Linked DNA regions of Homo sapiens: all the other regions are linked to region 3. Evidence: promoter capture Hi-C in 16 types of primary human blood cells and fetal thymus (Javierre and others, 2016). All regions are on one chromosome and are shown on one strand. Each heading gives the region's core, a stretch centred on a gene start or on the middle of the fragment in contact. The rest is flanking DNA. Distances are from core to core; before and after follow the strand shown.

What was found. The method cuts DNA at HindIII sites, captures the fragments that hold promoters and counts their contacts. A CHiCAGO score of 5 or more calls a contact.
Region 1: a contact is called between a fragment that was not itself captured here and the fragment with the promoter of CNEP1R1 in region 3, in 5 of 17 cell types (erythroblasts, M2 macrophages, activated CD4 T cells and 2 more). The highest score is 8.2, in erythroblasts.
Region 2: a contact is called between a fragment that was not itself captured here and the fragment with the promoter of CNEP1R1 in region 3, in 3 of 17 cell types (neutrophils, monocytes and naive CD8 T cells). The highest score is 9.3, in neutrophils.

Annotation. Positions count from the first base shown.
Region 1 is chr16:50,510,060-50,513,216 of GRCh38, forward strand. No RefSeq gene overlaps it. Among named protein-coding and RNA genes, the nearest start is that of NKD1, 37 kb to the right of the region's middle. The HindIII fragment of the contact is 1,132 bases long and covers 709-1,840 here.
Region 2 is chr16:50,379,383-50,382,851 of GRCh38, forward strand. No RefSeq gene overlaps it. Among named protein-coding and RNA genes, the nearest start is that of BRD7, 12 kb to the left of the region's middle. The HindIII fragment of the contact is 2,544 bases long and covers 895-3,438 here.
Region 3 is chr16:50,023,905-50,027,523 of GRCh38, forward strand. CNEP1R1 (CTD nuclear envelope phosphatase 1 regulatory subunit 1) reads left to right here and starts at 1,321. Exons shown (of 6, transcript NM_001281789.2): 1 at 1,321-1,436; 2 at 2,492-2,563. The coding sequence starts at 1,412. RefSeq lists an enhancer at 1,010-1,511 and a silencer at 1,325-1,634. The HindIII fragment of the contact is 11,127 bases long and covers 1-2,239 here.

The DNA.
Region 1 (3,157 bases), core at 25-2,524, 490 kb after region 3:
GTAGGAAGATGCTATGTCGCAGAGACCAGAACCTGATGTTGTCCCAAGACAAGCTCCCCTCTTGGCTTTTGGTTTTAAAAGTATAATTTCACTGCAAGGATTTTACTGGACCAGTGGTTCTCAAACTTGAGCACGCACCAGTATCCCTTGGAAGGTTTGCCGAAACACAGATTACTGAGTTCCACTCCCAGAGTATCTGGTTCAGTAAGTATTAAGATGGCGTAAAAATGAATGTGCATTTGAAACAAATTTCCAGGTGGTGCAGGAGCTGCTGGTCCAGGACCACACTTTGAGGATTACCGTATTAGATTATCCTGTCAGGGAGAGGGAGGAGGAGAGAGACTCTGAGTGGAGGAGGTTGACTTTGGGAGAGGAGGTGATGAGAGGAAAATTAAAGTCCCTGAGAGTGTGAATTCTATAATCCTTAAAGTAGTAGGACAGTACCTGGGAAGAGGGGGGTGGTGGTCCCTCCAAAGGAAACAGCTACACCTAGAGTGGCTGGACTGAGTTTCTAGGCCTTGGCAAAGATCCTATGCTCAGGTGTGGCTGGAGGCATCATAGCTGCAGCCTCTGAGGGACCCTGTAGTGTTGTGCAGCTCTGCTGTGGGGTGGGGACCCATCAACAGTGACCAGTCAGGCTGCTGGGAGGGTGCTTGGAGTCATATTTCTTTAGTCTTATTATTTACTATTTATTAAAAATATTTTCCAAGCTTTATTGAAGTATACTTGGCAAGTTAAAATTGTATATATTTGCAGTGTACAATGTGATATTTTTGAAATACATACACATTATGAAATAATTACCAACATCAAGCTAATTAACATGACCATCACCTTACATAATTGTGTGTGTGTGTGTTGGGAATATTTAAGATCTATTCTCTTAGTAAATTTAAAGTATACAGTATGACTTTAACTATAGTCACCATACTGTACCTTAGATATCCACAACTTATTCATTCTTCAAAGCTGAAACTTTGATCCCTTTGACCATTTCCCACAGCCCTAGCACTGACAACCACTATTCTATTCAATCTTCTGTGAGTTCAGCTTTTTAAGATTCCACATATAAGTGAGATCATACAGTATTTGTCTTTCTGTTTGGCTTTTTCACTTAACATTATGTCCTCCAGGTTCACCCATGTTGTCACAAGTGACTGGATTTCCTTTTACTCTAAGACTGGATAGTATTCCATTGTATGTGTGCAACACACACACACACACACAATTTTCTTTATCCATTCATTCATTGATGTAGTCTTAGTTGTATGGAACATGATGATGTTCCATATCTTGGCTATTGTGAATATTGCTGCAGTGAACTTGAGAGTCTATTTGAGATACTGATTTCACATCCTCCAGATATATACCTGGAAGTGGATTGCTCGATCATATGGTTGTTCTAGTTTTAACGTTTTGAGGAACATCCATAATGTTTTCCATAATGGCTGTACCAATTTACATTCCCAACAACAGTGTATGAGGGTTCATTTTTCTCTACATTCTTTCAAATACGTACCTTTTGTCTTTTTGATTATGGCAGTTCTAATAGGTGTGAGGTGATCTCATTGTGGTTTTGATTTACATTTCCCTCATTAGTGATATTGAGCATTTTTTAATATACCTGTTGGCCACTTGTGTGTCTTCTTTTGAGAAATGTCTACTTAGGTCATTTGTCCTTTTAAAAATTGGGTTGTTTCCTTGCTATTGAGTTGCTTGAGTTCCTTATATATTTTTGAAATTAATCCATTATCAGACATATTGTTTGCAAATATTTTCTCCTATCCCATAGATTATCTCTTAACTCCTATTCCACAGGTTGTTTCCTTTGCTATGCAGAAGCTTTGTAGTTTGATGTAATTCCATTTGTCTATTTTTGCTTTTGTTGCCTGTGCTTTTGAGGCCATATCCAAAAAATCATTGCCTAGATCAATGTCAAGAAGCTTTTTCACTGTGTTTTCTTCTAGTAGTTTTATTGTTTAGGCTTTGTGTTTAAGTCTTTACTCCATCTTGAGTTGATTTCTGTATATGATGTGAGATAAATGTCCAATTCCATTGTTCTGCCTTTGAATATCTAATTTTCCCAACATCATTTATTGAAGAGATTGTCCTTCCCCCATTTGTGTTCTTGGCACCTTAGTCAAAGATCAATTGACTGTAAATGTGTGGACCTATTCTGGGGCTGTCTATTCTACTCCACTGGTCTACATGTCTGTTTTTATGCTGGTATCAGGCTGTTTGATTACTATAGCTTTGTCCTATATTTTAAAATCAAGTAGTGTGATGCATCCAGCTTTGTTCTTCTTGCTCAAGATTTCTTGTCTGTTTAGGATGTATTGTGGTTCCATATGAATTTTAGAATTGTTTTTTCTATTACTGTAAAAAATACCGTTGGGAATTTTGAAGGGATTGCATTGAATCTACAGTTTGATTTGGGTAGGGCTATAGTTTGAATGTGTTCCCCCAGAAACATGTGTTGTAAACTTAATCCCCAATGTGACAGTGTTGGCAGATGGGGCCTAATGGGAGGTGTTTAGGTCATGAGGTCTCCACCCTCCTGAATGAATTAATACCTATTGTAAAAAGATTTGAGGCTGTGAACTAGATCTTTTGTTCTCTTTCACCCTCTCTTTGACTTTACACCATGGATGACACAGCAAGAAGGCCCTCACCAGATGACAGCCCCTCAATCTTGGATTTCCTAGACTCCAGAGCTGTAAGACATAAATTTCTTTTCTTTGTAAATAACCCAGTCTCTGGTATCCTGTTATTACATGCACAAAGCAGACTAAGACAGGCAGTATGGATATTTTAATAATATTAATTCTTCAAATCCAGGAACATGAGATATCTTTCCATTTATTTGTGTCTTCTTCAATTTCTTTCATCAGTGTGTTACAGTTCTCGATGTACAGATCTTTCACTTCCTTGGTTAAATTCATTCCTGAATTTTTTTGATGCTGTTGTACATGGGATTGTATTCTTAATTTATTTTTCAAATATTTTGTTGTTAGTATAGAGAAATCCCACTGATTAAAATTTTTTTTTAAGAGATGGGGTCTTGCTGTGTTGCCAAGGCTGGCCTCAAACTCCTAGGCTCAAGTTATCCCATTGTCTCAGCCTCTCAAGTAGCTAGGACTACAAGTGATCACCATCA
Region 2 (3,469 bases), core at 917-3,416, 360 kb after region 3:
GGTTCTTTCCTACAAATCCAATTCCAGTCGGCTTGGCTGATGCTTGGCCTGCTCCTCAGAGAGGCAAACATGCCCATTTGCTGGGGAAATGCAACCCAGGGGCGTTTTCTCCTCCTCTCTCTACTGTGATCTTGCCTTTCAGAGCCAGTAGGGGTTCAGACTTGGAGTTGCTGACATTGTCAGCCCCGGAAGAAAAGTTGTGAGGCTCAGCCAGATCTATTTATGCCAGATTTTACAACATCATTGAATTATTTGCACTCAGAACTGCTGATGTTCTGTTGTTATTGTTGTTTAAGTCTACACATAGGCATTTTGGAAGGCACCAATGAATGGGCATCTCTTTATAGTTTCTGAGGCAGAAAAAGGAAAAACTTTTTTCTCCCCTTTATTTAGGAGAAAAGTGAGTGGAGTGGGGAATACAGCCTTCTCCTTCCTGCCTGCCTGTCCCTCTTTCACCTGGGGTAAAATCTGCTTCTGAAAGCCTCCCCAGAGCCCGCTATGAGGAAGGAATAGCCCCTCATCTGTGCACCCTGGCTATTGACTCAGCAAGAGCTGCCATATTTCCTGGCTTCCACTCTGCTCCGCCATAAATCCACTTTCCCCACCACAGCCAGAGTGACTTTGAAATACACAGATTTCCGGGCCAGGGGCAGTGGCTCACACCTGTAATCCCAGCACTTTGGGAGGCCAAGGTAGGAGGACCAGGAGTTTGAGACCAACCTGGGCAAGATAGTGAGAACCCCATCTCTGTTAAAAACAAAACACATGGATTTTTCTGTGGGTGGTGGTACGTTACAAAAATAAAAACAAAAACATAGATTATAGATTGGATTAGGCCACATCATCGTCCTGTTCATAACCCTTTGGGGGGTCTCCCATCTCAGATCAAGCCCAAGCTTTTTTCCTAAGCCTACAAGGCTCAGTGTAACCTGACCTCGTGCTCTTCTCTGACCCCGATTTCTGCCACTGCCTACTTCTACCCACTAATCTCCAGACATAATTTGCCTAATCTTAGTCCCTTGAACATGCCACACTCTTCCTCCATGCAGGCCTTTCACACATGCTATTCCCTTATTCTGGAATGCTGTTCCCACACTCTTCATATGGCTGGCCTCTTCTCATCTCTCACCACCTCAGAAAGGCAACCCTAAACTGCTCCAACAAGTCCCCTTTTAGTTTCTGTCTTTATTTATATATATATTTTGAGATGGAGTTTTGCTTTTGTCGCCCAGGCTGGAGTTCAGGTGCGAGATCTCAGATCACTGCAACCTCCACTTCCTAGTTTCAAGGGATTCTCCTGCCCCAGCCTCCCGAGTAGCTGAGATTACAGGTGCTCACCACCACACCCAGCTAATTTTTTGTGTTTTTGGTAGAGACGGGGTTTCGCCATGTTGGCCAGGCTGGTCTTGAACTCCTGACCTCAGGTTATCCACCTGCCTCGGCCTCCCAGAGTGCTGGGATTACAGGCGTGAGCCACTGCACCCGGACCTCTTTTAGTTTCTCTTATAGCACCCTGTGGTTTTTCTGTTTCTGATAAAACACATCACATTTGCAATTCCGTATTTATTTGTCTATTGTCTGCCTTCCCATAAGACTGAGAACTTCCTGAGGGCAAGAGCTGAGTCTATTCTGTTTTGTTCACTGGCACTTGACATGTACCTAATACATTTTTGTTGCCCAAATGATTAGACGGTTGAAGTCCTCTCTTGTGGAAGGCAGGACTTCCTTCTGTGTTCTTCCTTCTGGCAGTGACTTATTTCTCCTCCCAGGAGGGGATTGGAGAGAGGAGGTTTTGTCATGCTTCCCTCTGTCCCCCTCAAGGCACTCAACATGGTATTTGGCCCACCATGGGAGCCCAGTGGAGGATGATGAATGAATTCACATTAAATATGTTCTTCCTCTTCCCCCCAACTGCACAGCCAGCTACTCCTGGGAGAGGCATAAATAGTGACCTACAGGCCGGCTGCAGTGGCCCACACCTGTAATCCCAGCACTTTGGGAGGCCTAGGTTGGTGGATTACTGGAGGCCGGGAGTTGGAGATCAGCCTGGCCAACACGGGGAAACTCTGTCTCTACTAAAAATACAAAAATTAGCCAGGCATGGTGGCACATGCCTGTAATCCCAGCTTCTTGGGACGCTGAGGCACAAGAATTGCTTGAACCCTGGAGGTGGGGGTCTCAGTGAGCCAAGATTGTGCCACTGTGCTCCAGTCTGGGCAACAGAGCAAGACCGCCTCAAACAAAAATAAGTGACCTACACCATGAGACTTTGGAGTTGTCAAGCCTTTGCAAAATCTCAAACTCTCTCTTCTACTGATGTGAGTACTGTAGTGCCTGAGAGTCCATTACAACAGAGCAAGGGCAAGGTCTAAGAATCATCTTCCAAGGTCAGCACACCTGGAAGGGGTATTGCCTGAACTGAGCCTGGTAATTTCCTCCTGGGATGGGGAGGGTGGGGAGGGTGGAGAACACAGTGACAGCGCCCCCTGCCCCAGGCTTTCACTTCACCAGATATCCATTAAGCACAGTGATTGTTAGGGTCCACAGGGACTTCAGATACAAACAAGACACAGCCCCTAACCTCAGGAGGCTCAGGGTTTGGTGGAATAGACGCGTGACTTGCCCCCTTTCTGCCGTATGACACTTTGGGCTCGTTACTTGAAAGCCTTGGCTTCCTCATCTGTAAAATGGGGTTATAAATGTACCAATCTCATTGGTGATAATTCATTGAGTTGATGCATAAAAATGCTTAGGACAGGGCCAGGCTCAATAAGGGTGAGTAGTCAGTGTTATTATCTGCCATGCCTCAGGCAAGGTACAGAGTTTCCCCAAGGCTACTTGACCTCTTCCTGTTTACCCTGCCTCCTGGCCAGCTGCCCTCTGGTGGTAACTGTGCAGAGTGGTCGCCTGCCTCTGGCACCTGTCTGATCTGCCCCGGTCCTGCTGACCCCTCCTGTGGGCCTTTTGGTTGTCTGGACTCTTGGTATGTCCCAGGCCTTCCCTTTTTGCTAGGTTTCCAAGGCTGCTCTTCTGCGTCAGCAGGTTTCTCAGGCTTTTCAGACCCAAGTGACCATCTTGGGACATAGGCAGAGAGAAGCCTTGATGTTACTAGTTATTTCTGCCCATTGGGCACCAAATAAACACTTTCTCTAGCAACAGCCTCTTGACTTCCACTTAGAGAGCCTCCTCTCCCCACATGACCTAAGCCTGCCAATGAGAGTGTCACAGCCGCGAGGGCCAGTGAGGATTGGTTCAGGGGTGAGCATGTGACCCAGGCCTGCCAGTGAGAGTATCACAGCTGCCAGGACCAATGATTGGTTCAGAGGTGGGCCTGTGACTGGAATCTGGTTAATGAGAATATCATAGCCCCTGGCTTGGTGATTGGTACAGAGGTGGGCAGGGACTGAGGCTTGGCTTTGGTGGGACCTTTCCATGAAAAGCTTGCTGAGCCAGTGGTATGTCAGTCTGG
Region 3 (3,619 bases), core at 71-2,570:
TAGTCAGTGACTGGTACTTGGTAAGCTGCAATTGTTTTAATATTGCTTGTTTAGCTGCTAGAGGAAAAAAACGAACATTGTGGCAGTTAGAACATCGTTTATTCTTTAAGTGTCTGGGTCTTGAGTGATTTAACCCTTGCCTGGCAGGGCCTTAGGTCTTGTTTATAAGTTGGTATGTTACTGCCACAAAAAAATCTAGCCCATCAGTCTTAGATTCTTTTTTTTTTCTTTTTCTTTTTTGACAGTCTCACGCTGTCACCCAGGCTGGAGTGCAGTGGCTCACTGCAACCTCCGTCTCCTGGGTTCAAGTGACTCTCGTGCCTCAGCCTCCCAAAGAGCTGGGATTACAGGCATGCACCACCACGTCTGGATAATTTTTTTGTATTTTCAGTAGAAACAGGGTTTTGTCATGTTGCCCAGGCTGGTCTCAACTCCTGACCTCAAGTGATCCACGCGCCTCAGCCTCCCAGAGTGTTGGGATTAACAGGCGTGAGCCACCGCGCCCGGCCAGGATCTCTATTTTAACACAACTATTCTTATTTGAAATCAATTACTTATTTGCATGTTTGTTGCCTGCTGTAGCCCTTCCTCTTTGCGGGCAGGAATCCTGTCTACCTGGCTCACACGCGTATCAATACAGTGTCTAGCATGTTAGGCAATAAAATGATTTTGAATGAAAGAATGCCACCAATAAATGAACAAGAAGGCCTTGTGATCAAATACAAATGTAGTCAATCCCTTACAGATCTCTTCTTAAGTTATAGGTATTTGGGCTTACACTTTGCCTCATTTAGGAATTATGAAAGCTGGGTGATGTGAGAGGAAAGTAACCAAGAGAGAAGTGTTTACTTAAGGGGTTGGTTATCTAGGATACCATAATTAAGGAAACTGGTTATTTAGGGTTCTAGTTAGTTCTGTACAGATTTCATTACTCCTTGAGATCCTTGAGGACAGAACCAGCTCTTTGATTTCTGTATCCCTCGCTAGCGACCAGAATAATGCCTGGAAGGTAGTGGGCGCTCAATCAACATTTGACGAATGAAAGAACCAAGCGGGGAACGGGGGATAAATGAATGAACGAACTGGCTCCGGAGGGCTGCAGTTCCTCCCCGGGGCAGCAGGCGACGCCAGCGTTACGCCCGCCTGGCCGCCGGCAGTTCTTGGTCCCTCCGGCTGACCGTCCAACGCTAGGCGCCGAGGCCGGTGCAAGAGACAGCCAATAGAAAGCTGTCTTAGTTGGAGGTCTAGTAGAGGAATCCAATGAGCGTAGCGGGTCTAGGCAAGGGGCGGTGCGACGGGGAGGGGCAGCGGGGAGCGGTTAGAGGTGGGAGTTGGCGCTGCGGGCCGGGCGGGGGCCGCGGAAGCTGCGATGCGGACAGGGCAGCGGCGGTGACCCGAGCTGCCGCCCGACATGAACTCGCTGGAGCAGGCGGAAGGTAGGGTGGGCCGCCCGGGCCCGTCCCCCGTCTCCCCTCGGAAGCTGGCGGTGCTCCGGAGGAGCCGGCGTCGTGAAGACCCCCGCCCCGGGAGGAGGCCGCAGAGGATGGAGCTAGGGGCCCGGAGCTTGGGGGCGCGTAGGCGGCCGTACCTGGCCAGACGCGGGGGGCGGTGCCTCAGCTCCCTGAGTCCCCACAAACCTAGAGGGTCGACCTCCTCGCCAGCTTCTATTTTTATTTTCTTTTCACTGGCAGACACTTGCACTTCGTGCATTGCAGCCTGCTAATTCATTTCATTTCATTCTCACAGCCCCGCGAGTTGTATCCCTGATTCCTGCGGTGGTTTCCGGTAACTGCCAAGGTTAGGAAGTGCTGCTCGGTGTTTTAAAGTTTAAAGCACACCACTGCGGAAAGGATACCCCACCACTCACTCGGAGCAGCTTAGACGCCCCTGTCTTCTAGAACTAGGCGCTGCCTGGGTGCCACGAAGATCACCTGTACCCCTTCGGAGGGGGCAAGGGGAATGTCTTTCCACACCCACTCGCTATCAGTGTCAAGAAGTCTAGTAAGGCCAGACGGCGTAGCCATTAATTAAATATAAGAGCTGGAAACCGGAGGCGGGTAATTGCAGTCAGGTAGACCTCGAAGACTTTGATGTTAGGCACTACGTGGTTCTAATAGGAAGTTCTTGGTTCCCAGAGAGCTAAAACTCGACCTGATTTTAATTTTATTTGCAACCCTGAAAATGTTCGCTTTTGGCGCTGGCCGAGGCTGCTGCTTATTTCTCCCAATACCATTTATGAAGCTTCTAAAAGTAAATCAGCAAGTTTTCTTATATGAGAAATTGGAATTAAAGAGCCCTAATTTTTTGTCAAGTGCTTAAAAAGCTGTCATAGTAAATGAAATAAACAGTGCAGTGATACATGGAAGTTAGTGTGTAAGACCTGAAGCAGTTAAGAGTATCTCACATGTCGTCTTAATGTTAGGTAAATACTCTGACATTTCGTCAGACGAGTAAGAGTGGCTAATTAGAAAATTGACATCTTTATACCTAGATCTCAAGGCTTTTGAGAGGAGACTTACTGAATATATTCATTGTTTGCAACCTGCTACTGGACGCTGGAGAAGTAAGTTCCTGAATGTTATTTTAAGGGAAAACTAACAATTGATACTTTTATCCTAATATAGGAATGATTTGCTTTTATGTAAAATGTTTGTTTAAATTTATTTAACATTGTAGACAATGCCTTATGAAGAAATTTTTAAGAAAAGGAAATTATAACTGGCCTTCTCAAAAGAACAGTCTATTTCGTGTGGTTGTTTTTGTTTTTCCATTAAAAAACATATTTTTTGGCCAGGCGCCGTAGCTCACGCCTGTAATCCCAGCACTTTAGGAAGCCCAGGCAGGCGGATCACCTAAGGTCAGAAGTTCAAGACTAGCGTGGCCAACACGGTGAAACGCCGTCTCTACTAAAAATACGAAATTAGCCGGTCGTGGTGACGCTGCCTGTGATCCCAGCTACTCAGGAGGCTGAGGTGGGAGAATCGCTTGAACCCGGGAGGCGGGGATTGCAGTGAGCCGAGATTGCGCCATTGCACTCCAGCCTGGGCGACAAGAGTAAAACCCGGTCTCAATAAATAAATAATAAAAATATTTAAATTTTTGAATTATTACAGTTTTGATAAAGACATACCTAATAAAAATTTCAGTAGCCCGTTTAGCAGTTTTATAATTTGCCTACAAACTATTGGAATAAAATTTTAGTAAGAAGAGTCATATTAATAGGGCTCAGTGAGTCACGCATATAATCCCAGCACTTTGGGAGGCCGAGGCTGGAGTATTGCTTGAGCATGGGAGTTTGAGACCAGCCTGGGTAACATGGAGAGACCCCATCGCGGTGGCTCACGTCTGTAATCCCAACACTTTGGTAGGCCGAGGCGGACGGATCACGAGGTCAGGAGAGCGAGACCATCCTGGCTAATACGGTGAAACCCCGTCTCTACTAAAAATAAAAAAATTAGCCGGGCGTGGTGGCGGGCGCCTGTAGTCCCAGCTACTCTGGAGGCTGAGGCAGGAGAATGGAGTGAACCCAGGAGGCAGAGCTTGCAGTGAGCCGAGATTGCACCACTGCACTCCAACCTGGGCGACAGAGCGAGACTCTGTCTCAAAAAAAAAAAAAAAA